7 separate regions of the Homo sapiens genome follow, and regions 2, 3, 4, 5, 6 and 7 are each linked to region 1. The links are contacts of gene promoters, found by promoter capture Hi-C in blood cells and fetal thymus (Javierre and others, 2016). All regions are on one chromosome and are shown on one strand. The core of a region is centred on a gene start or on the middle of the fragment in contact, and the rest is flanking DNA. Distances in the headings are between cores, read along the strand shown.

Region 1 (3,253 bases), core at 534-3,033:
CCCTGTCTCAAAAAAAAAAAAAAAAAAAAAAAAATTTAAAAGAAAGTTCTCCTCATATTACTCCCCACACTAACATTCTTCCACAGCACTGCACTATTAAAATTCTTCATTTATATTTAAAACCTTCAGTATCCAACTGCATCCCACTACCTAGAACAATGTTCAACCACATCTTCACATTTAACCACAAACCCTATCCTATAGCCCCATCTATCTGTCATTTCCTATCTTCTTACCTCCATGCTTTTAAGTTTCCTCTTAGTATGCCCTCTGACCCTCTACATATCTAGATCCTAATTATTCTTTGAGGCCCAACTCAAGTGGCTCCTTCTCTTTATTTCAAAGTCTTTCTAGATCCCCTCAGTCAGAGACTAGTATCTCCCTTTCTCTGAATTTCTGTATCTCTTATTCAGTCTACAGCCTTCTATTACATACTCTATTTTTGCATATATGGGTTTCCTTCAATATCAGTTTGAAGACTAGAGTCACTCTCTTCCAAAGTTGTATCTCCAGTGCCCTACCATCCCTAGATTATGTGGACAGAGATCTGGCAGGACAGGGATGTGGTCTGCTTTGTGGAGATCATTTTACTCACAATTATCATCTGCCTGGAGGCTGATTAGGTAAGTCCTGCCTCTAGTAAGAGAGGTCAACCAAATTAGCTCCCAGAGTATTTCCTAACCCTGGCTTCCTTCTACTGGCCTATAATCCTTACTTGAATTATATTTGTATTCTATGGTTAGATCTCTCAATATTATATCCAGTCTTTTCGGTTTTCAAAAACAATACAACATAATTAAAAAAACAAACAAACAAAAAGTTGTAAGGCAATTGTGAAGTGGTGGAAAGTGCATTACGGTTAGAACCAGTAGGCACAGCCTTTGCTTTTTGGCTCTGTTCCTTACTGGCAGTGTGACCTCCAGGTAGTTCTTTAACCTTTGTTTCCTCATTTGTACAATAAAGATGGCCCCAAGGGTTAAACAGAAAATATTTAATATGCAACATGGAAGAGTGTGTATGTGTGTGTGTGCGTTATGTGTGTGTACACAAGGCCTTGCTACAAGAAGCCAATCTCGTTCTCTTCTTTCGGGGACCTCTGCTTACTGACTTTGCCGGATAGAGTGGCTGTGACCTTGGGCCAGTCCCCAACTCGACTGTCACCCACAAGCGCCCTCAGCGGTAGCAAGAGTGCGTGTCCAGGAGCTAGAGAACGAGGCTCTAGTAGTGCAATCAGGCCAGCTTTGCTTCCTAACCAGGCACCCTAGACTTGTGGTCTCCCCACAAGTCTTGGAATGGTTACTAAGACGTAGGCCACACGTGGAGAATGAAGCTTTTAAGACCTCTGGGTTCGGCTTGCCCCAGGTTTACGAAGAGCCCAGTTCCCAGAAAGACCCACACCCCCCACGTGACTTAGGACCCCGAAGAAAGCGCCTGCTACGCCCCGGACAAGATCTGGCCAAAAACAAACAAACAAACAAACAAAAAAAAAGGTCTCCCCTCCCAGCCCTCAGGTGAGGCCATCATCCCCGCACCCCTCAGCTCCGGCCTGCACCTATAACGCCAAATGCTGTGCTGGGTAAAATTAATTACCATAAACTTCTAGCGCTTTCTCTTCCATGATCCGGGGCTGCCGGGCAGCTCCCGGCTCAGAGAGGCCGGAGAGCCACAGGACTCTGCTCAGCGTCCAGGAGAGCAGCCCGGACACCCGCTGCATCTTCACGCTCAGCCATCCCTGGCGACTGTCCCAATCGCGCCACCGTCTCTCAGCAGCCTCGGGATTGATCAACTTCCTGGTCTTCAAATGGGCCGAGACAAGCCTAAAGGTTCAGGAGAGCAGAGAAAAGGCGGGGCCAGACGGAGTAGCTCGAAGGACCTAGGGAAGGGGCCTCAAGGACTACAAGTTCCAGCGTGCTTTGCTCGATTTCGGCGGGACAAAAACAATCTTCGCGGCTCGTCAGCACATTGCATGCTGGGATGCGTGAGCTATTTTCTTCGGAAGGCAGCGAATTGTATTCTGGGACTTGTAGTGTCCGCCTGGTAGAAGTGGATGTAACGGTCTGTTAACCGCGACTGACTCACTCAGTATCCGTGATAAGTTAAAGATGAATCCTGAAGGGGTAGGGGAAAGGAGATCTTGAGTTCTCCAGCACGGAGACTCTTTACAATTATTTCTCCGCGGGATCCGCTGACAGCCAACGTCTTTCTTACTTCCTGATCGGACAGGAAGTAGGTTTCAGTTGCTGTGAAAAGGGATGTCATGGGAAGCCAGTGAGGTAGTCAGGTATGGCATGGGGAGGGCTTTTTGGCTTTCTCGTCTCCTAAGGGACTCAGTCCAGCACAGCTTCCCACCTTTGAACGAATATTTCTGCTAATGGCCTCCAAAGACAACTTAGAACATAAGTTTTCCCGTGTCTAATGTGTACAGTGGTGACATAATGGAGATCGCCATCCTTAAAAGTGTATCTTGGCCGGGCGCGATGGCTCACGCCTATAATCCCAGCACTTTGGGAGGCCGAGGCGGGCGGATCACCTGAGGTCAGGAGTTCGAGACCAGCCTGGCCAACATGGGCAAACCCCGTCTCTACTAAAAAATACAAAAATTAGCTGGGCGTGGTGGCAGGGGCCTTAATCCCAGCTACTTGGGAGGCAGAGGCAGGAGAATCGTTTGAACTCAGGAGGCAGAGGTTGCAGTGAACCAAGATCGAGCCATTGCACTCAAGCCTGGGGGAGAAGAGCGAGACTTCCCTCAAAAAAAAAAAAAAAAAAAAAAGTGTATCTTAAGCCCTCTGGTGTTCGTGGGTGTGATGGATGCCAGTAACAAAATCGATTTTATTTTATCCATCCATCCCTCCGATCAAATTTGTAGGTACTAATTTGCCATAGGTGATCCATAGGCATGGAAGATACAAAGATAAAACGCTGCCCCCGCCTTCAAACAGCTCACATGACCTGTGAGGGAGTCCATCCCTGAATTTGCAGTTACAACCAAACTAACTAAACCTCTTGTCAAAGTTGGTGACAAATGCCATTTCTATTGAGAAGATAGGATTATCTTGCAGAATTGTCCCATGCTAACATGCCCATTTATCTTTAAACTCCAGTCTTGTTTGTCTAGTTAATGTAGGCCTTAGGATCACCAGACAATGAATTGCTTAGGTCCCAAGGAAATTTTGGTCAGGGTTCAATAATTTCCCTGCCGTCTATTCCACTCCACTTACTCCACAGCAATTGAGAGGATAATCCTAACATTTTT
Region 2 (3,253 bases), core at 281-2,780, 970 kb before region 1:
TGTTTCAGTAACATATGTACAGTTTAAAGAAAAATTATGTACAGTTTAAATAAAAGTGGGCACTCATAACCACCACTGACTGCGTCTTTTACATTTTTCTCTTTATATTTTTTCTCTCATGTTCTTGGAGTAGTGGTGACCCCCACCGTGGGAACCTCCAGTACTATCTTAATAGAGTACATCTGTCCACTATAACTGCAGTTTCAGTGTCAAACGCTCTGGGTCCTAGGATATTCTGGTCTCTTGGAGTCTTGGGTTTTGTGAGTAGCCCCAGAAGCTTTACTTATTTAGCCCCACTATTTTCTTGCTAGGTATGGATACCATTATTGCCTTTTCCTCCTATTAAATAATTATTACCTCAATATATTTATTTTGAGGTATGTATATGTTTACTCAGTAAGTTTATTACCTCAATATGTTTGTCCTGATGGCTTGTCAGTTCAAGTCTGTGAGCTCTCTTCTTTATTCCACCTGCAAGAAAAGACAGGGCCATTTTGTATATGGGGCATATTGCCCCAGTGCTGAAGGTATAAAGCCTACAAGCTTTCAAAGATTGTGTGTGTGTGTGTGTGTGTGTGTGTGTGTATGTATGTATCCCAAAATATAAAAATTACAAAACTGATAAATGTTTAAGTAACTTCAAATTAACATATCAATTTCATTACACGTTAAACTAGGATTTTATACACATTTTACATTTTGTAGCAATTTGAGATTAGGTTTCTTATTTCACAAGAATGTCTGATCATTTACAGATGCTGAGAAATCATAGGTAATTGTAAATTATAATAGTTACTTTTGGATTAAAATTTTTCAAGCACGAAATTTTTAAAAAACACTTTATCTTTTATAGCAAAAGAAAGGTAATATAAGGTCTGGATGTAACTTCATGTCTTTGGTACGGTGTGGAGCTAGAATTCCAGAAGCAATAGATTTTAAAACATCTTTAGGGAAATGGGTGAATTGAAATGAGACATAAGGGAGATGGCAAGAGAGTGAAAAGAAGCGCGTTCTAAAGGGGGAAAGGAGAAAGGGAAAGGAAAGGAGAAAGGCATCTCTAAAGGGAAAGGAGATGCCTGCTGAGCGTCTACTGTGTGCCCTGCGCTGTTCCAGAAGTTGAGGATCCAAAACTAAGTCTAGGCTCCCCAAAGAAGTCCCACTCTGGTAAGGAATCTGACAAGTAGTTAAATGATACAAAGTGTTAACTGTTGTTAAAGAAGTGTGCACACTGAGGGGCAAGATGGTAAGGGCGAGAACTCCCATGGGACGGGAACTAGGAAGGCTTCTGGGAGGTGACGCTTGATCTGAGGGTAAGCAAAGGAAAAAAAGGAAAGAGAGACAGAAAGGAAAAACAAGGAAGAGACAAGAAAAGGGAGAGGAAGAAGGGCTCGATGCGATCGGCGCTCGGGTAGTCAGGCGTCGACTGCTAGGGTCTGACCGCGGTCCCCACCCCCGTCCCGCCCCCTGCCCTTCCCTCCGCCCCGCGCCGCGGCTGGCAGGGTGTGCGTGAGTTTGGTGGCGGCCGGCTGTGCAGAGACGCCATGTACCGGCTCATGTCAGCAGTGACTGCCCGGGCTGCCGCCCCCGGGGGCTTGGCCTCAAGCTGCGGACGACGCGGGGTCCATCAGCGCGCCGGGCTGCCGCCTCTCGGCCACGGCTGGGTCGGGGGCCTCGGGCTGGGGCTGGGGCTGGCGCTCGGGGTGAAGCTGGCAGGTGGGCTGAGGGGCGCGGCCCCGGCGCAGTCCCCCGCGGCCCCCGACCCTGAGGCGTCGCCTCTGGCCGAGCCGCCACAGGAGCAGTCCCTCGCCCCGTGGTCTCCGCAGACCCCGGCGCCGCCCTGCTCCAGGTGCTTCGCCAGAGCCATCGAGAGCAGCCGCGACCTGCTGCACAGGATCAAGGTGCGGCCACTGGAGCGGGGGGCGTAGGGGGCCGGGGATCCACCCCTGTCGGCGGTGCTGTCGGGGGCTGAGTGGACCCCACCCGGGGCGGCGGGGTGCCCGCGATCGGCTTCCGAGAAAGACTTCCCATTTCCCCACCGCCGAGCCGTGGTCAGACGCTCTTGGGGGTTCCCCAAATCTGGGTGGAGGTCACCGCCTGTCTCGGGGACCGCCCCTTCCCCCTAGGGGGCGGACAGGCACATCCCTTGCTGTTAGTGAGTGACCATGGCCTGGGACGAGGTGGGCGGGGCCCAGGTGGAGGGGGCGGGGCCCAGGCTCAGGGGGCGGGGCCTTGGAAGGTCCCCGAGGAGAGCGCTGGGCTTTTTCAGCAGGCCCGTAACTGTCGGTTCTTTCCCCTTCGGTCTTAGGATGAGGTGGGCGCACCGGGCATAGTGGTTGGAGTTTCTGTAGATGGAAAAGAAGTCTGGTCAGAAGGTGGGTTCAGAAAATTGTTGTTTTGTTCTGTGCCAGTTGGTAAATAAAATATTGTTTTACTGGTTAGAGTGGATCCCATGAAATGCTATTGCATTTACATAAAACGATGCATATTGTAGAGAAAACATCTAACATAATAAAGAGTCAGGTGTTTTTAAATCACGGTAAGGTTTAAAATGTGACTAATAAATTGGAGTCATGAGGATGGCTACCCACTCCCACTTTTCTCTTAGGACTGGATTTATTAGTCTGAAAGTTTTATACAGTAGTCCCTCCTTATCCTGGGGATATATTCCAAGACCCTCAGTGGATGCCTGAAAAAGTGGATGATATTGAACCCTGTATATACTATATTTTATCTTATATATACATATCTATGATAAAGTTTATAAATCAGGCATAGTAAGAGATTAGCAACAATAATAAAATAGAACAATCACAACAATACTCTGAGTGGCATGCAATTTAAAGCTTACGAATTGTTTATTTCTGGAATTTTCCATTTAATACTTTCGGACCATGGATAACTGAAACTGAGGAAAGCGAAACCACAGATAAGGGGTAACTACTGTGTAGAACAATCCATTAACTGAGTACTTGCAGGTAACACTTATGGGTAGATAAAACTCAGAATTTGTGAAGTTTTCTTTTTTAATTAAGTTAACAATTTCTTGAGGCCTCTCTTCCGTAAAAAGCAAAGTGCTAAGTACTGGGGTTATACACTATTGTAGGGACCAGCCCCACAGGGTCGGTGGGTCTCTCCCTGTGTGCGGCGACGAGAGAGTGTAGAAATAAAGACACAAGACAAAGAGATAAAAGAAAAGACAGCTGGGCCCGGGGGACCGCTACCACCAATGCGCGGAGACCGGTAGTGGCCCCGA
Region 3 (3,253 bases), core at 532-3,031, 810 kb before region 1:
AATCACATTTTAAAAAATGCCTTGGGTTCCCTTGTTGGGCCAGAAAGTAGGTCTTCTCTAGGACTCACGAGGACCTCACATGAAACCACTGATTTGAAACACAGCTGGAACTTGGAACCATATTTCCTTTCAGGCAGTCATGAAATTGGCTTTGATTATGTAGTAAGTCTTAATAGAGTGATAAATGTGCTGTCTTTTTTCATTTGTACAAATGAAGTAATTAAGGCTGTCCATGAATTTCGTGGATATAACCAAGAGGAACCTCAACAACAACTCTTTTCATAGGCTTCTGTTAACTTGTTCTTGCCAATATGCTAGGTTTTCTGTATTTGTTACTCTTTGCTTTTAATACCAGATACTGAATTCCCTTTTCGTAATGAAGGAATTTAAATTAGGAATTGAAATCCAGGAAGCCATTGCTTAGAAGCAAAAATCATATCTTAGAAAAGTTTCAAAAATGAAATTCCCATTAGTACCTGGAAATATTACATGGGAATAAATAAATATCAAAGGTAACACTGAAATTTCCATGGTAATACAACATCCCTAACAGATGGACATCTAGCTGTGTTTGAATGTTTCTGGTATGTGGCAGTTACTACCATTCTACAATTTTAAGCTTTAACTGTAGAATATCATTAAGGTAACCACATCTACCTCTGCTGGGCTTGGTGGCTCATGCCTGTAACCCTGACATTTTGGGAAAGCAAGGTAGGCCAATTGCTTGAGCTGAGGATTTCGAGACTAGCCTGGGCAACATGGCAAAACCCTGTCTCTACAACAAATACAAAAATTAACTGGGCATAGTGGTCCCAGCTCCTCGGGAGGTTGAGGTGGGAGGATCACTTGAATCTAGGAGGCGGAGGTTGCAGTGAGCCGTGATTGCACCACTGTGCTCCATTCTGGGAGACAGAGCCAGACCCTGTCTAAAAAAAAAACAAACAAGCAAAAACAAAAACTCCCTTCTGACCGCTGCCTTACTCAAGTACCAGGTAAATGAAGTCTCTGCTGCATGGTTATAATTATCTCCCTTTCAAGAATGAACAGTCCTCATTTCTTCACCTGGACCTCAACAGGCATGGTTGTGGCTTCCAAACCTTTCCAAAAGAAAGGCTGTTTGTTCTTTTTGGTCAGTGGACATGACCCTTTTTGTCAGCGCCTGGTTTTTGCCTGTGCTCAGAACCCAGCATGGTATTCTGCAGTGCAGACTAAGTAGTACCCCTGACTGGGCACTGTACTCTTCACAGCTCAGCCTCACATTGCACTGGGTTTTCCTGTCAGTGACATCATTGGCCCATATGCATTTTCATGCCATGGGTCTAATTTTGAAAAAAAAAAAAAAAAACAAAAAAAAACACAATTTCTAATACAGAATTTAAAGTTTAGGACTTGTATGTTCTAAAACCTGAATTATCAGCGTGACAAAATGAGTATGGGCTGTTCTTCACTGCCTTGCATCTTCATGGTTTCCACCTGAAATGGCAACATTTTCCTGGCACTAACTTAGGGCTCCAAAGGACTGTAGCTGAACATAGATCCACATTATTGTTCCTCTTTTTTTTTTTTTAATTTTAATTTTTAAAATTTTCTTTTTACACTGAGGAGCAAGTGTCCACTTTTTTAATGAGGGCAGGAAAGGAGTAGGACCACATGAGGAAGAAATTAAAGCTGTCAGTCTGTAGGCTCGAATGCCAGGAAGTTCAGAGAAGCCTCTTTAGGTTCCTAGGGAAACCATGTGTGCTTTTCTGAAAGGACCTTTGGAAATTTGCAAATGGTAGGACAGACTTGTACTAGCAGGTACGTTTGTTTGCATTTGCAAAAATCATCTTTTACGAGCCTTTAGAATATTCAAAATTTTCCCAGCAAATTTGAGAAATGTTAAATGTTATGTAGATGTATTAAAACAATTTAAGAATTATTATAATGCTTTATTTATGACTGACATTTATATGGATACATTTACATTGCTCTCTTATTCTATATTGCATTCAAATATAGGGAGTTTGGTTTAATCAATACTTTATCTCCACTGCCAAAGTAGGTCTTGAACTTTTAAATTTAAAGTGCTACCTCAGACTTTTGCTATCAGAATTTGGTGCCAAGATTAAAATGTGGAGAGTTTATACCAGTTTTTATAAATATATGGAATTGGATCAAAATATTCATTGCAATCTAATAATAAATAATAGTTTTATTTCATGAGTTAGACCTTAATCACTTAATCTTACTAATCTTGTTCTTACATGAATGAATAGTAACTTTCAGCCTGGCAGAGCCTTGCATAAAGAGAAATTGGCATGTGTGGTAGCCCTTTCTGCAGTAATTTTTTTAAAATCCAAGTTATGTTGCTTAAAATATAATCATATTTTGCCAAAAACATACAGTTTAGACAACTCTATGTTGCTTGAAACTCCTGTATGTTGCTTGAAACTCCTGTATGTTGCCTAAAACAGACATTAGGATTTTTTCTGTTTGGATGGAAACTTTTGTAATTTAATTCAATTTTGTCTTAAAAGGTTGATACCATAAATATTTTGTAATTTTAGAAAATCTTCCATTTATAGAAAAAACATTAAGATAACCATTGCTACAACTTTTAAGCAGCGTGTCTATTTTTAAAAATTCTGAAAATGGCGTATTTAACTTGTATTCATACTCCTTTCTCTCTCTCACACACACATTCGAAAAAGGATAGAACAAATGAGAAAGATGGTGTGATTTAGCAGTAGTTTTTCAAAATTTATATTTTTGAAATTTGAATTGTTTCTTTTTTTGTTCTTGGGAACATAATAATAAATGCAAACAAAGAATTTTCCACTTCAGTAAGATGGACGTGAACCCAGAAACTGATGATGTTTTGTACTTTCTCACTTCCTGATGTTGACATTGAGAACTCTTAGTGCTGTTAGTTTTCCTCCCACGTACTTCCATAACGTAGAATTAGGAAGCTTATTAAACTTTTTAGTTTATTTATTTAATATATTTGTGATAGTAGTACTTTGTTGTATCAAATAGCTAAAATCTTTGATTGATTCACTGATTGACACAGTCTCGCTCTGTCACCCAGGCTAGAGTGCAGTGGCGCAATCATGGCTCACTGCAACTTCCGCCTCCGGGGCTCAAGCAATCCTCCCACCCTCAGCCTCCTGAGTAGCTAAGACTATAAGTGCGTGCCACCACACCCAGCTAACTTGTATTTTTTTGGTAGAGACATAGGCTCCTTATGTTGCCCAGGCTGGTCTCAAACTCCTGA
Region 4 (3,253 bases), core at 239-2,738, 660 kb before region 1:
CGAATTCTTCCTTCTGAGGGGGCAAGAACTGAGGTTGCTGCAGACCTGTACAGATTCGCCGCCAGTAACATTTCTTGTCTGTCTACCCCACTAGAATGTCAGGCCTTATCACTGCTACCGGGATAATGTAGAGGGACCTATCATGTAGAGGGACAGGGTACACATCTGTAGATTTAGTAAGTGGAGAAATATGAAGTCCGGACTCATTGGCCATGAGAGTTCTGGCAAGGAAGAGGCCAGTCAGGACAGCTGCTGGAGGGCTGGACCATGAACAGGACCTCTGCCAGTTGAAGCATGCCCTCTGCTTTAGTGCCTTGTTACATATACCCTGGTCTACTCATCACTCATGGTGCCATCAGACACTCCATCTCAGAGCCTGCAGTGAGTCCAGAAGAGAACAGGGCCCCAAACAGAAGGAAGTCCTGCAGTCACTCAGCCCACCATCCCAGGAGGCATTGCACAAACTCTGCTGTCATCAACATGCCCCTGGGGGTCTTACACTCCCACCCTGGACTAAGACCTCCTCCTGATGCCTCACAGTGCTCTCCGTGAGAGGAGTGTTGAGAAACACACTTCTAGGGGGTTCTGCTGTCCCCTACAGACCAGCGCTCAGTCATTCCTCCTGGATCTAGCTCTGGTATGGCTTTGCAGGCTTCACTCACAGTCTTGCCCTGAATCTGGGCTCCACTGTCTCCCTGTCTGACACATCTGATCTCTCTGTTTCAGTAGAGCTCCAACTACCGTCTACTTCCTGCAACTGGCCTGCTGCCAACTCCCCAGATCTCTTGTGGAGCTGCCGGAAGAGACAGCCTGCCACAGAAGAAAGCAGCCCTCCTCTTTCATGGCCTCCCACATCTTGAAACAAACACAAGCAAACAAAACAAAAGCTTGAGTCCCAGCCTGATTCACCAGGTTTGGTTCCCAATTGTTGAAATTCCCTTCCCAGGGCTCTCAGAACCAGGGTTGGCTGGAGGGGTGAAAGAGGCTGGCCCTGAGCCCAGTAATAGGACACCAAGGGGGAGCTAAAAGCTGGGATCTGGGGTGAAGATGGGGTCTTCCAAGCTGGGAGGCAGACACCAGGCCAGAGCAACCGGCCTGCCCCAGCTCAGGCCTCTTAACCCATGCAGGGCAAGAGTATAAACAGAGGCCACGGACCACATGCCTCAGTATTTAAACTTATAAATCAAGCTAACATAACATGAAATCAAATATGTTCTATCCTCCTAGCTTGACAAATACTTTCATAACGAGATGGAATGCCAGGTTCAGATTTAGAATTTTCACACTCCTTAAAGTTCCAAGTCAAAATACAGCATTAGGGGAGGGCCCCCAACCTCGAGGTCTCCCCTCCCCCATTTTCTTTCACTCCCAGCTCTGTCTCACACCACGAGGGATCTTGGGTGAATGCCCCTCGATACCCCAGCCCCCCACAAACAGCTGCCCTTTCCCCCCTTGGCCAAGGGTAAGCACAGCAGCAGGGCAGTCTGCCCTTGGCTGGAGAGATGGAAGGAGAGGCCACACGGGCCCTGAAAATGCATTTGGGGACTCTTGGGCAGGAAACTTGGGAGTTTCTGGAGCCTCAAGGAGGGTCTAGTGGGACAGAGCCACTTGGGCCCATGAGATCCTTGACCCATGGAGAAGGGTAGGGCTAGAGGAGGGCCAGGGCAGGCCCTATGAACAGAAGAACCTAGAGTAACTGCCCTGTCCCCAGATCCTGTCACCGAGCAGGTATACTTGGGAGGGTATTGGAGGGTGGAACCCAAGGGAGCTTGCCCAAGGCACTAGGAAAGAAAAGTGTAAACCTTGTTAGAGAATGCTAAGGATAGCTGTTAAAGCCTCAGAGATTTTACTCATTTTTGGCTGTTTCTAAAAATCTTCCCCCAAAGGAAGATCTTGCTCTCATTGAGGATCTGAGAAAGAATTCTCTCCAAGTAGTTTCAAAACATTCTGATGTAAAAACTCTGGTGTGTTAGTCAAAAATAAATTTTGTTGCTTGATGGCTTCACCATTCACAAAATATTCTATCCATCCAATTTAAAAATAAGAGCAGGGTATTTAAAACTCTTTCAATAAACACAAATTAAAACAATGAAGCTTGAATTATTGTTTTAACCTTGTTTTTTAATTGTGATCAGCTTAAGGGAGAGATATCAGGGGAAATGGGAATAAAAAGATACAGTGATTCAAAAATAAATGAAATGGGGCCAGGTGCGGTGGCTCACATCTATAATCCCAGCACTTTGGGAAACCGAGGTGGGAGGATCACTTGAGGCCAGGAGTTCAAGACCAGCCTGGCCAACATGGTGAAACCCTGTCTCTACTAAAAATACAAAAAGTAGCCAGGCGTGGTAGCATGCACTTGTAGTCACAGCTACTCAGGAGGCTGAGGCAGGAGAATCGCTTGAACCTGGGAGGCGGAGGTTGCAGTGAGCTGAGGTTGTGCTGAGTACCACTGCACTCCAGCCTGGGCAACAGAGTGAGATGCTGTCTCAAATAAATAAATAATCTCAGCAAACTAACACGGGAACAGAAAACCAAACACCGCATGTGCTTACTTGTAAGTGGGAGCTGAACAATGAGAACACACGGATGCATGGTGGGGAACAACACACACTGGGGCCTGTGGGGTGGGGGCAGGGGGAGGGAGAGCAACAGGATAAATAGCTAATGCATTCAGGGCTTAATACATAGGTGACGGGTTGATGGGTGCAGCAAACCACCATGGCACACATTTACCCATGTAACAAACCTGTACATTCTGCACATGTATCCCAGAACTTTAAATTTAAAAATTTTTTTTTGGAAAAAAAAAGAATACTACGCAGATGAATATTCTCACACTGGTGCCTTTTAAGACACAGTTGCTACAGATTTTAAGACCATGATGTATTTTTACAGCCACAGGACCAACAGCGATATCATCTCTAGCTACTTGTCCTGTGAGTTGTATGAACTTGTTCTGTCATAGACTCCCAGTCTCTCAACCCTTCCTAGCACTGTCTGGGCATGAACTTCTAGCCTGAGATCAGGGAGGGGGTCCATCTTATTTGCTGGTTTCATAAAAGCATTAAGCCAGTGGTAAGAATCAGGCATCTGAATCACCAGGACTCTTTTTGGTCGCTGTATCAATCTGTTGACCATAATAACTAATTTTCAGATAGGACTGGAACCTCTTAAAATGTGGCATCCATATTGTCTCTCATGGTCCTTTCTATAGCCCTATAGTGAAGGCCAGGTGCCCATCCCTAGGTAC
Region 5 (3,253 bases), core at 417-2,916, 630 kb before region 1:
CCAATGCCAGACACGCTATTGGTAACTCACATTGTTCCTGAGGTCATGGATTCCTAACAACCACCACCATCACTGCATCTACTAATGCCACTGGTTGCTTCGGGCTCCCCTAAGGACAAGGGTCAGGGTGTGGTGCAGTTCCCATCCTTCGCGCTGCAACACGAGCTGCAGTAGCTCAGGCACCCAGACCTGAGGCAGGTCTGGCTTTCTGAGAAGTCCTCCAGAAGGGCTCCCAGGGAAACAGCCTAGAATGCAGGGGAATCAGCCTCCCAAAAGGTGAACTTTGATTAATGAGAGATAGGAGGTGGGCAGGCACTGGCAGGTAGAGTGCTCTCCTCTCCTCCAGGGTCTCCACGCAGCCTGTCCAGAGAAACCCCGCATGGCCCCTGATCTGCTCTGGCCCCTCCACACCTCCCTGGATCTGTGGTTCCTGCCTGCCTGCCTGCCTGCCTCATTTCTCTTTGTTCTCCACTCTTGCTTCCGTGAGATGAAACCAACCAAAAAAGCATTTGTGCCTAAGCTTGGCCTCTGGCTGTGTATTTTGGGATCTCAAACTAAGACAAAGAGAAACTAATATTTGTGGGTCCCTATTATGTGCCAGGCACCGTGAACCTTACCCAAGTTATCTTACTTCATCCTTACGAAAACTGTAAGGTAGTGATTATTAACTCAGTCTTCCAGATAAGGAAACTGAAGAAAGAGGAAACCGTGGAGCCAGCTATTAACTGGTGGAGCGGGAAATGTGAGGCAAAATCAAACATTGAAACATGCGGTGCCCCCTTCGGTTTTGTACCTTTTGTGGCTCCCTAGTGTCTGATCCTTTGGGGAGCCTGCAGTTTCGTCAGTTACATCCTGCAACAGTTTGGGATAGGTTGAAACCTCAGCAGCATCTGACCCATAAAAGAATGTTACTGCGGGGCCTCCCTAAAAGACAAGGGAGGAATCAAGAGAATTCCAAGAAAGGCGTCCGAGCAGGAGGTAAGACAGTAGATTTGAAAGCAGGACTGAGGGAGCAGGAATGGGAAGAGGGGCCCAGCCCCAGCGGGTCAGGGGCCGGACTAGGCTAGCGAGGCCCAAGTGCGGTGGCCCCATGCAGAGATCCTGGCTCGGTGCAAAGGAGATGCCGCTCCCACCGTCTGCAGGAGGCAAGGGCTCCCCTTCCCCGGCCAGGAGCCGGGTGCAAGAGGAGCCTGGGGAGGGAGCTCCAGGCCTGGAGCAAAGGCTCCTCCTAGGGGCCCGCGGTCGGCAGAGAGCGCGGGACACTCACGGCCATGGAGAGCAGCCCGCCCGGTGAATGGAGCCTTTCTCTGGGCACTTGGCAGAACTCGGGGGCCCTCTGTGCAGAGAGGAGGCCCACTGGAATAGAAATAACCTCTGGCTTGCAGAAGCATTTTGTGGAAAGATTCAGGAGCTCAGTAGGCAGAGCAGTCCCAAGAAAGACATTTGGAATGTTGAAACTTTTAGAAGAAAATCCAGACCGTTTTTAGGGCCTCGGGTAAAAAATCACTCTTAAACAAGACACCAAAAGTTCAAGGAAAAGAGGAAGGGTGACTTCACTAAAATTAAGAACTTCTAGTCATAAAAAAACATGACACAGAGAAGACAATCCAGAGACTGGACTCGATCACTGTAACACCTACACCTGGCAAAGAATTCCTGTCCAGAATCTATTTTTAAAACTTCGACAAATCAATAAGAATGAACAATTTAATTTTTTCAATGGGGAAAAGACATGAACAGGCATTTCAGGGATAAGGAAATACAAAAAGACCACCAACATATGAAAAAATGGTCAGCCTCCTTAGTAATAAGGGAAATGCAAACTAAAATAAAAATTAGATACAATTCCACAGCCACGAGGCTGGCAGAAATTTAAAACACAGGCAATCAAGCAGGGGCAAGGATGTAGAACAATGAGAATTCTCATACATGGTTGGTAGGAGAGTTGATTGTTACCACCACTTGGAACAGTTTGGCCTTATCTGATAAAATTAAAGACACGCATACCTTATGACTCAGTAATTCCACTTCTAGATAAATATTAACTCTCATATATAGGCAGTAGGAGAAATAAACAAGCATGGTTTAAAATAGTCCCAAATTGGAAACAACTCAAATGTCCATTTGCTGTAGGAGGAATAAATTCTAACACAGTCCCATAGTGGAAACTATGTAGCTATGAAAATGAATAAACTACAGCTGTACCCATCAACATAGATCACAGATGTGAAAAGCAAGTTATAAAAGAATACTTACAGTATGATTCCCTTGATAAAAGTTTAGAGGCAAGAAAAACTAGGGATAATACTTATAAGGTAAAGCTCTTTCTCAAAAGTAGGAGAGGCTGAATGCAGTGGCTCATGCCTATAATCCCAGCACTTTGGGAGGCTGAGGCAGGATTGCTTGACTCCAGGAGTTTGGGACCTCCCTGGGTAACATAGTGAAACTGCATCTCTAAAAATAAAAACAAAAAAGTAAACAGGTGTGGTGGCATGTGCCTGTGGTCCCAGCCACCTGGGAGGCTGAAGTGGGAGGATCAGTTGAGCCCGGGAGATCAAGGGTGTAATGAGCTATGATCACACCACTACACTCCAGCCTAGGTGACAGAGTGAGACCCTATCTCAAAAAAATAAAAAGCAAGAGAAAGATTAATGCAAAATCGAGGATAGGAGAGTGAAGAGAATGCATCAGGGAAGAACAATAGGAGCTTTGCAGGCACTGGTAGTATTTTTTCTAAAGTTTAGTGTGCGGTTTGTTTTATTGTTATTCCTTAAACTATACTTACACGTTATATATATATTCTTGTATGAATGAAGCTTTCACCAAAAGCTTTTTTTAAGAATGAGAGTTAGGCTTTTTTCAAGGGCAGTGAGACCACTATCAGAGATTTTTCTATGTAGCTGAGATCCATCCTAGTTGGACTGAGGGTGTAAGAACATCAGGACAAAGGAGCTGGGGTGGGGAGGGGTGCTAACAGGGAGGCCTCACTCTGTGCCAGGCTTTAATGAGCAGAATCTCAATGGGCATCAGATGCTGCCTTGTCAATAAAACACAGCCAAGAACAAGCTGAGTTGCTGGAATTCTGAATAATAATGAATTAGAACTTACTGCTGTATCTAATAATCCTTCTGTGACATTTGTATAGTGTTTCACAGTTTATGAAACACTTTTATCACTTTTATATGAGTTAACTCAGTCAGTTCCCGTAATCCCACTGAGAGGCAGGCAGAGAAGATTATTTTTATGCCTATTT
Region 6 (3,253 bases), core at 250-2,749, 580 kb before region 1:
TAAGGATACCTGCTCATATCAAAATAACTTTAAAAAATTAGAGAAATCCTTAAGGCTACCAACGTTTATGTTTCTGTAGAGACCTGAGGTTTTTGAAATGTATTAGCTGGGAAATAGAGCATGGGCTCTAGTAGTCCTTTGCTGCCAAAAAAGTTAACAGTCTAATCTAGCTGGGGGAGAGACAGGAAGCTAACTAGTTAGAAGATACATCCATGTGGTTTAAGGTAAATGTTGAAAATAGCTATCTCCTAATAACGTAAAGGCTGATTTATGTCTAATTGTTGCTTAAGGGATTCTAGTTTAAAATGAAAAAGTTTTAAATAAAAGGGCATTCTCTCAAGCTTTTTGTTATGTGCACATACCAGATGTTATTTTCAGAAGTTGGAGGCTTGGGCATTCCTTATTTTTGTGGGTAAAAGAGTTTAACCAGTGGGAAAAAACAAAAATTGTTTAAAAAGATGCCCTGAATGCAAGTGTTTTGATAACTAAGGAAAGCCAAGGACCAAGCATTTGAACTTGAGGGTTTGGGTTAAACAGCCAGTTAAATTAGAGATATTTAGTAGGATAGGCATGCTAATTTTTCCCTGATTAATTCTTCAATGAGTTGAGAGTGCCTCTTTAAGTTTTCAGTACACACTTGCCTTCATATTACTCTACCCAAGAAAAGTAAGTGTAGATCAAGTAAATGTTCTGCAATTTTGCACCAAAAACTGCAGATAATTCCACCCAAAATACTGGAGATAAACCCTTTTTTAAGAGATCCATTCAGTAGGATGAGGTGTTGATTATTGGTTGTCAGTGGTAATAAATTTGTAATGGACTGATCAGGTTGTGATAAAGAGAAGAAATCAACCTTGATGGAGTGATGGGTTATTTTGTATCGTATTTCTCCACAACCTACATTTAACACTCGTTTGCCCAGTGGACTAAATTTTCTAAATACAATCAGTCATTTCCTTGTCATTAGGTCAAATGCTTTTACTGCTTTTTAGTAACATTCTATGATGTCTTTATTAAGTGCCTAATACTTAATAGAGCAATTAGTAAATATTTGCCTGATAAATAAAGGAACTATCACTTAGATGTGTCTGGCAGGGTCTTTATGTTGAAAATAAACGCAGAGTGAACTTTCCCCAGAATGCTTTCACTAGCCCGCACTCCCAGTATTTTAGTCAGTAAACGTTGGCTGGATTGTGAGCAAATGACCATCTGCAGTGTTGTTATCACAATGAATTTGTGTTCTTTTGGCAGTCTGTATTTATAGATGGGCAGGTGGACAATTTAGTTGTAAATGTGGATGGGGTAGTTAAAAATCAGTGGACAGGTGATACTTTTTTCACATTAATTCTAAAAAGTAGTATTTGAGTTTTATATATCCTTCTGAAGAATTTAAACTTTTTTGGTAATATTTATAAAGCTTAAGTCAAATGTCTTTCTAGTCTTTCTGCAGTATTCCTCCCCAACCCCGTCCCCCAGAATCTTAGAGCAATCTCAGCTTATTTCTAGAGTCTCTAAATGATTGCTCATGGATGTGAAATGTGTGAAATTTAGAATGTGCTCCATGTATGTGTTTTGTTTAAAGAAGCTTCAGTATAGAGATTGAGCCTAACATTTACTTGTTGTGAAGAAGTTTTGACACATTGATGAGAAGTTCTTTCCCTAATAATATGCTTAATAGTGTATACAGAACATCCTTCATGGTCTAAGCAGAAGAAATGATGGAGTTGGGGGAAGAATTCGAACTCTTTGGTGTGGTTTCCTGTTATTTATCCTCAAAATAATTTATTCTCATTCTTTGCTTGTACACCATTAGCCTTAGGCTCGTGTAACAGCCTCCTTTTTCCTCATTGAAATGTATGTAATTTCCTTCTCCACTGGAATATAAAAGATTGATTTTGGATCCTTCAAGCTAGATTTAGAAATACTTATGTTTTTATAGTGTTTGCAGCTCAGTGAGTAGACCAGTGAGTAATTTAGTGTGTAGCTCAGTGAGTCATTTAAATTCCTGTTTTAAAATTTGAGTCCCTCTTCCATCAGGAGCTGATTAACATGTACATTTCCCCTAACCTAACCTGCTCGTTTTTTTTCTTTTTGAGCTTTTCTCCCCTTCTTGAGCTTGTTTGTTTGTTTTTAATATTTTTCCTTCTTTGAAAACAAAATGTTAGTCTCCTTTGATTAAGCTGCAGTCTCTGACCTACATACATACAGGTTTGTGTTCAACCAAGGCATTGAAATAAATAGATTTAGTCGGTAGATTATCATTGTTTGAAGTGGAAAAGGTATGCTGTTTAACATATTTTGATATTTTATGTTTATTCATTGCCTCTTTAGACAGGAGAGCAATTGCATTCTAGGTGTGTTAATAGAGCTTTCCTGGACAGATGGCTTGGAAGGAAGTACTTTGATGGGTTCTCAGTAGGGGCTAGTACTTTTTGGAGGGTGTGTTTGTGATTAAGCTTACCTTGATTGACAGTTTAGAATGCTGAGAATAGCATTAACAACAGTAACAGCTTGTTCATCTTACCTAGAATTGTCTTGTGCCAAGACCCCTCAAGATGCTCTGAGATTTCTGTGTAGTGGTTTCTTTTGAGAATGTAGGTAAGAATAGGTGTCCTTGAGACTGAAAAGAAATTCACCTAAAATTGTTCATTGTGGTTGTATCTTAAAATCTTTGGGGTCGTTGAATGAACTTTGGCTTAGAAATTTGTAGAGATCGTCTTTTTAACTGCTGTGAGTCTGCAGATGTGATTATCTATAGTAATTCCAGATGTTTTCTCATCTATTAGTTTTACTGAGTAGGAAGATAACTGAGAACAACATAAAGTAACTTCAAAGCAGTTTGCTAGCATTTAATCCTGACTAATTTAATTAATTATTCATCCTTGTAGTTTTTCCTATTTTATTGATTATGAAACTGAGACAAAGGTTACGAGTTGCCCAAGATGCTTGGGGAGTATTAAAGATAGCCCAAAGCTTAAACTCTAACACTGTTCAGACTTTTAGCTTGCTTTTTCTTAAAAAAAAAAAAAAAAGAGTCTTTATTTTGTTATTCAGTAACTTAATGCTTGACAATTTAAAAAATACAAAATGTTTGGAACACATACTTTAAATAATTCCTTTGAAGATTTTTGATATGAAAATATATTTTAAGTTCCACATCTCAAAAATTACTTATTTTAAAATTTGGTCTTTTGTTACCCCCCTCACCCAATTTAATATTGAAAGTGCTGGCAAGTTGGAACAAGGAATTGGT
Region 7 (3,253 bases), core at 428-2,927, 550 kb before region 1:
AGCAGTTGTGATTAAAAATTTTAAAAAAGGAAAATATTTTGTTGATGTTCTTATAAACGATTTGGACGCAAATTTTCAATGTAAAAAATTAGACAACAGGGAGAGTTTTGTTTATTTAAAAACAATATTTTGAAGTTTAAGAAGAAACTTTCTAATAGAGATAATCTTAAAACATAAAAGGCTCTTCCTTAAGATAAGCTGGTACTTGTCTGCTTTTAACAAAGGATATGGGTTTGCTCTGCAGGTATTCTTCTAATTTTCCATAATTGGCTTATTTGATGGCAATACATCAGAGTTTAGTAAGAGAATTTAAAAATGCTCTTGCTTCCTAAGCAAATTCTTTTAGATTTTAACCTTTCTCAGTTTGAAATAGGTGAAGTCACTAGAATATCAGCTTGCTTTTTCTTTTCAGTATTACTGTCATTTATAATAAAACCAGATGTCAAATTTGCCCGTAAATATCAAAATGTCTTAGAAGTGAATGAAAAGGAGCTGGTGAAACTTAATGAAGGATCTGTCATGTGTCAGGGGTGTTTGTTGCATAAGAGGTTTTATTTATTTATTTATTTTTGGTATTAGTGTTATGCATGGCTTACTGTATAAAGATAGCTTTGTTGCCAGTAAATTAAAGGACTTGTTTCTTTACTGTTGCATAAAAAATGTTTTATTTGTATGATTATTCCTCCTTGTTTCAGATGAGTGAAGAATGGTTTGCTTTGGGAATATTTTCTTAGTTCTTCAAGGACATGATGTGGAAGTCATGACTTGAGTAACTTCAATAGCACTAACAACAGGAATTGAAAAAAACTTAGAATTTTAAAGCTGAGAAAGAGGTAGAGATTTTTCTCTGTCTTGGGTATGACATATATGTTATTCAGTATGGTAGCAATTGAGCAATTGAATGTGGCTAGTGTGAAGAATTAAGTGTTTTTTATTTTAATTAATATTTAAATAGCACCATGTGACTGCTAGCTACTATTGGACAGTGCAGCCTCAAACTATTAAAATTTAACATTAAGTATATTAATGTTATAAACTTTCAAAACCTTAAGATAGAAATCTAACAGAAACTCCAAAAACAAAATAAGCCAATTTTACTAAATAAAATACTGTAGTTGGAAATAACTATAACTTAAAGCAAATCTAACCCAGTAAGCTATCAAAAAGAAAAATTATATAATTACCAAGTAGAGTTAATTTCACCTGAGTTCTATGAACATATTCATTATTAAAGGAAACCTCAAATTATTGTCCCATTGGAAGCAAAATATACATTTATAAATAGCCATTTCTCGTTTTAAAAAACTAATAACATTGAAATAAACAGAAACTTAAGCTCTTCTAGTTTGCCAAAAACCAGAAAGCAAACATCATATACTAAATGATGAAATGCCAAAGCCATTTCCATTATATCAGAAACGAGACTAATACTTCCTGTCATCATTTACATGATTGTCACTATTATTAAGCATTGTTTTGGTAGTTCTAGCCATTGCAGTAAGACAGTAGACAGAAAGTCAAATAATTGGCATAAATATTGGAAACAAAAAATTATTTCTACTTTGAAATGATACAATAGAATAGCTGGAAAGCCCAGGGGGACTCTAGTAGAAAACAGCAATGAGGATTAAATGTAAGACACTTTGGAAAGCTGATGTGTGAGAAATGTACACAAACTAATAGCTTTCTCTTTATTAGTAGTCATCAGTTGAAAATGGAAATGACCAAGCAAAAATATTCAACAGAATGACAAAACTATTGGTTACACCTAGGAATAAATGTGTTAAAGAAAGGTACAGAGTGAAGGTAATGACCCTTATGAAGAAAACTTGATATTATAAAAAGTAGTCCTTTTCTCCCTCAGTTTTTGTCTTCAAAATGTTTACTTGGGACAGATCGTGGTTTACATGATGGTCCTCAAACATATTGTGAACAACATTAAAAAAAAAAGACACATTTTACTCAATAAGTAACATTTTTTGAGAAGCTACTATGTGCTAGGGACCTAGTTTTTAGTGCAGTGGTCTCCAAAATAATGTACTGGCAGTATGGGAAGAGCGTTTAGAACACTGTACCTTTTTATTTGGGAGGAGAAAAGAAACCTTTGTCAAATATTTAACACCTGCTGCCAGAGGTCTGTAGATTTGATGATTGTGTGCCATGAGTTACACACAGACTCCTAAATCAGTTTCACCTGTGGTGTCCTCATTCTGTTTACTTTGAGCATTTTGCATTCTATATCTGCTTAGTTATATGGATTTATTCGTCCCATATAATATGTGTAGCCACATGGACACATGTTCTAAAAGGTTTTAAATTCTGCAAGATAGTGACGATGATGTAAACACAAGAAAAGGGCAAATGGATACATTTTCCTACTCTGTGCTCATCAAACATATTACAGGATAAAATTATTGGCTATCTAATAAAAACACAGACTAATAAGACCTGATAAGTTGGACAAAATGTTTAAAAATTAACATGAAGATGATAGGAAGTATGAATCTATATTCACTGTCATTAATGTCAAACCTTTACCTTATGGTATATTGTACTTTGAGAAATTATGGCCAGGCATGGTGGCTCACACCTATAATCCTAGCACTTTGGGAGGCTGAGACAGGAGGATCTCTTGAGCCCAGGAGTTCGAGACCAGCCTGGGCAACACAGGGAGACACTGTCTTTAAAAAAAAAAAAAAAGGAAATTAGTTTAATAATAGTATGAAGATATTGTGAATAGCAAGACATTTAATATAGTTTATTTCATCTCTAGCTCATTCTTTAAAAATTATTCTTTTTTGTAATATATAATTTAGATTTAATTGTATATATAATTTATTAATACAAATATATACATATATATATAGAATATATATAGAGAGGGTAGTGGATACTCAGTTTTGTGGTTTATTTTTTAACTTGATTAGGAAGCTGATGAAAATAGCTTGAAGGCTTCTTTTGTAACCAAATGCAGGTCTGGATGCTCACTGCTTGTAGAGTCCAGTTAATATGAGTGAGGTCTGGTAGAAAGAAAGTAACTTTATTAACCAAAACTAGTGAAAGGGGAAGTAGCTGGATTTCAATCCAAAGTTATTGTTTTGACTTTAGTAGACTAGTGTTTTGTCTTTTAGAATTAGAGGGGGCAAGTAGTGCAGGGCAAAAACAGGAAGGAAACGAGTGTTTCTAAAGTTAGAATTTTTTAAAGGAAGTAAACCTACATTAAATTTTAGGACAAGAAAACGATTGAGCCATG

What was found. The method cuts DNA at HindIII sites, captures the fragments that hold promoters and counts their contacts. A CHiCAGO score of 5 or more calls a contact.
Region 2: a contact is called between the fragment with the promoter of LACTB here and the fragment with the promoter of CIAO2A in region 1, in 5 of 17 cell types (fetal thymus, non-activated CD4 T cells, total CD8 T cells and 2 more). The highest score is 10.5, in fetal thymus.
Region 3: a fragment that was not itself captured here is called in contact with the fragment with the promoter of CIAO2A in region 1 in 1 of 17 cell types (fetal thymus); the score reaches 5.7 in fetal thymus.
Region 4: a fragment that was not itself captured here is called in contact with the fragment with the promoter of CIAO2A in region 1 in 1 of 17 cell types (fetal thymus); the score reaches 5.5 in fetal thymus.
Region 5: a contact is called between a fragment that was not itself captured here and the fragment with the promoter of CIAO2A in region 1, in 1 of 17 cell types (naive B cells). The highest score is 5.5, in naive B cells.
Region 6: a contact is called between a fragment that was not itself captured here and the fragment with the promoter of CIAO2A in region 1, in 6 of 17 cell types (fetal thymus, naive B cells, total CD8 T cells and 3 more). The highest score is 8.8, in fetal thymus.
Region 7: a contact is called between a fragment that was not itself captured here and the fragment with the promoter of CIAO2A in region 1, in 1 of 17 cell types (total B cells). The highest score is 5.4, in total B cells.

What each region holds. Positions count from the first base shown.
Region 1 is chr15:64,092,055-64,095,307 of GRCh38, forward strand. CIAO2A (cytosolic iron-sulfur assembly component 2A) reads right to left here and starts at 1,784. Exons shown (of 5, transcript NM_032231.7): 1 at 1,591-1,784. The coding sequence starts at 1,714. RefSeq lists enhancers at 859-1,421, 1,057-1,106, 1,467-2,196. The HindIII fragment of the contact is 2,171 bases long and covers 1,329-3,253 here.
Region 2 is chr15:63,120,331-63,123,583 of GRCh38, forward strand. LACTB (lactamase beta) reads left to right here and starts at 1,531. Exons shown (of 6, transcript NM_032857.5): 1 at 1,531-1,898; 2 at 2,306-2,372. The coding sequence starts at 1,542. It overlaps LOC107984798 (a long non-coding RNA gene), which reads right to left and starts at 1,437. Exons shown (of 2, transcript XR_001751584.1): 1 at 410-1,437. RefSeq lists silencers at 1,420-1,999, 2,020-2,089, 2,100-2,289. The HindIII fragment of the contact is 2,300 bases long and covers 542-2,841 here.
Region 3 is chr15:63,280,207-63,283,459 of GRCh38, forward strand. The region is part of intron 2 of APH1B (aph-1B gamma-secretase subunit); the gene reads left to right. Among named protein-coding and RNA genes, the nearest start is that of APH1B, 4.2 kb to the left of the region's middle. The HindIII fragment of the contact is 2,329 bases long and covers 618-2,946 here.
Region 4 is chr15:63,436,234-63,439,486 of GRCh38, forward strand. It overlaps LINC02568 (long intergenic non-protein coding RNA 2568), which reads left to right. Exons shown (of 7, transcript NR_120375.1): 7 at 730-1,303. Among named protein-coding and RNA genes, the nearest start is that of LINC02568, 48 kb to the left of the region's middle. The HindIII fragment of the contact is 1,207 bases long and covers 886-2,092 here.
Region 5 is chr15:63,460,245-63,463,497 of GRCh38, forward strand. No RefSeq gene overlaps it. Among named protein-coding and RNA genes, the nearest start is that of USP3, 43 kb to the right of the region's middle. The HindIII fragment of the contact is 2,296 bases long and covers 519-2,814 here.
Region 6 is chr15:63,508,251-63,511,503 of GRCh38, forward strand. The region is part of intron 1 of USP3 (ubiquitin specific peptidase 3); the gene reads left to right. Among named protein-coding and RNA genes, the nearest start is that of USP3, 5.3 kb to the left of the region's middle. The HindIII fragment of the contact is 168 bases long and covers 1,416-1,583 here.
Region 7 is chr15:63,541,360-63,544,612 of GRCh38, forward strand. All of the region lies in intron 3 of USP3 (ubiquitin specific peptidase 3), which reads left to right. Among named protein-coding and RNA genes, the nearest start is that of USP3, 38 kb to the left of the region's middle. The HindIII fragment of the contact is 3,441 bases long and covers 1-3,253 here.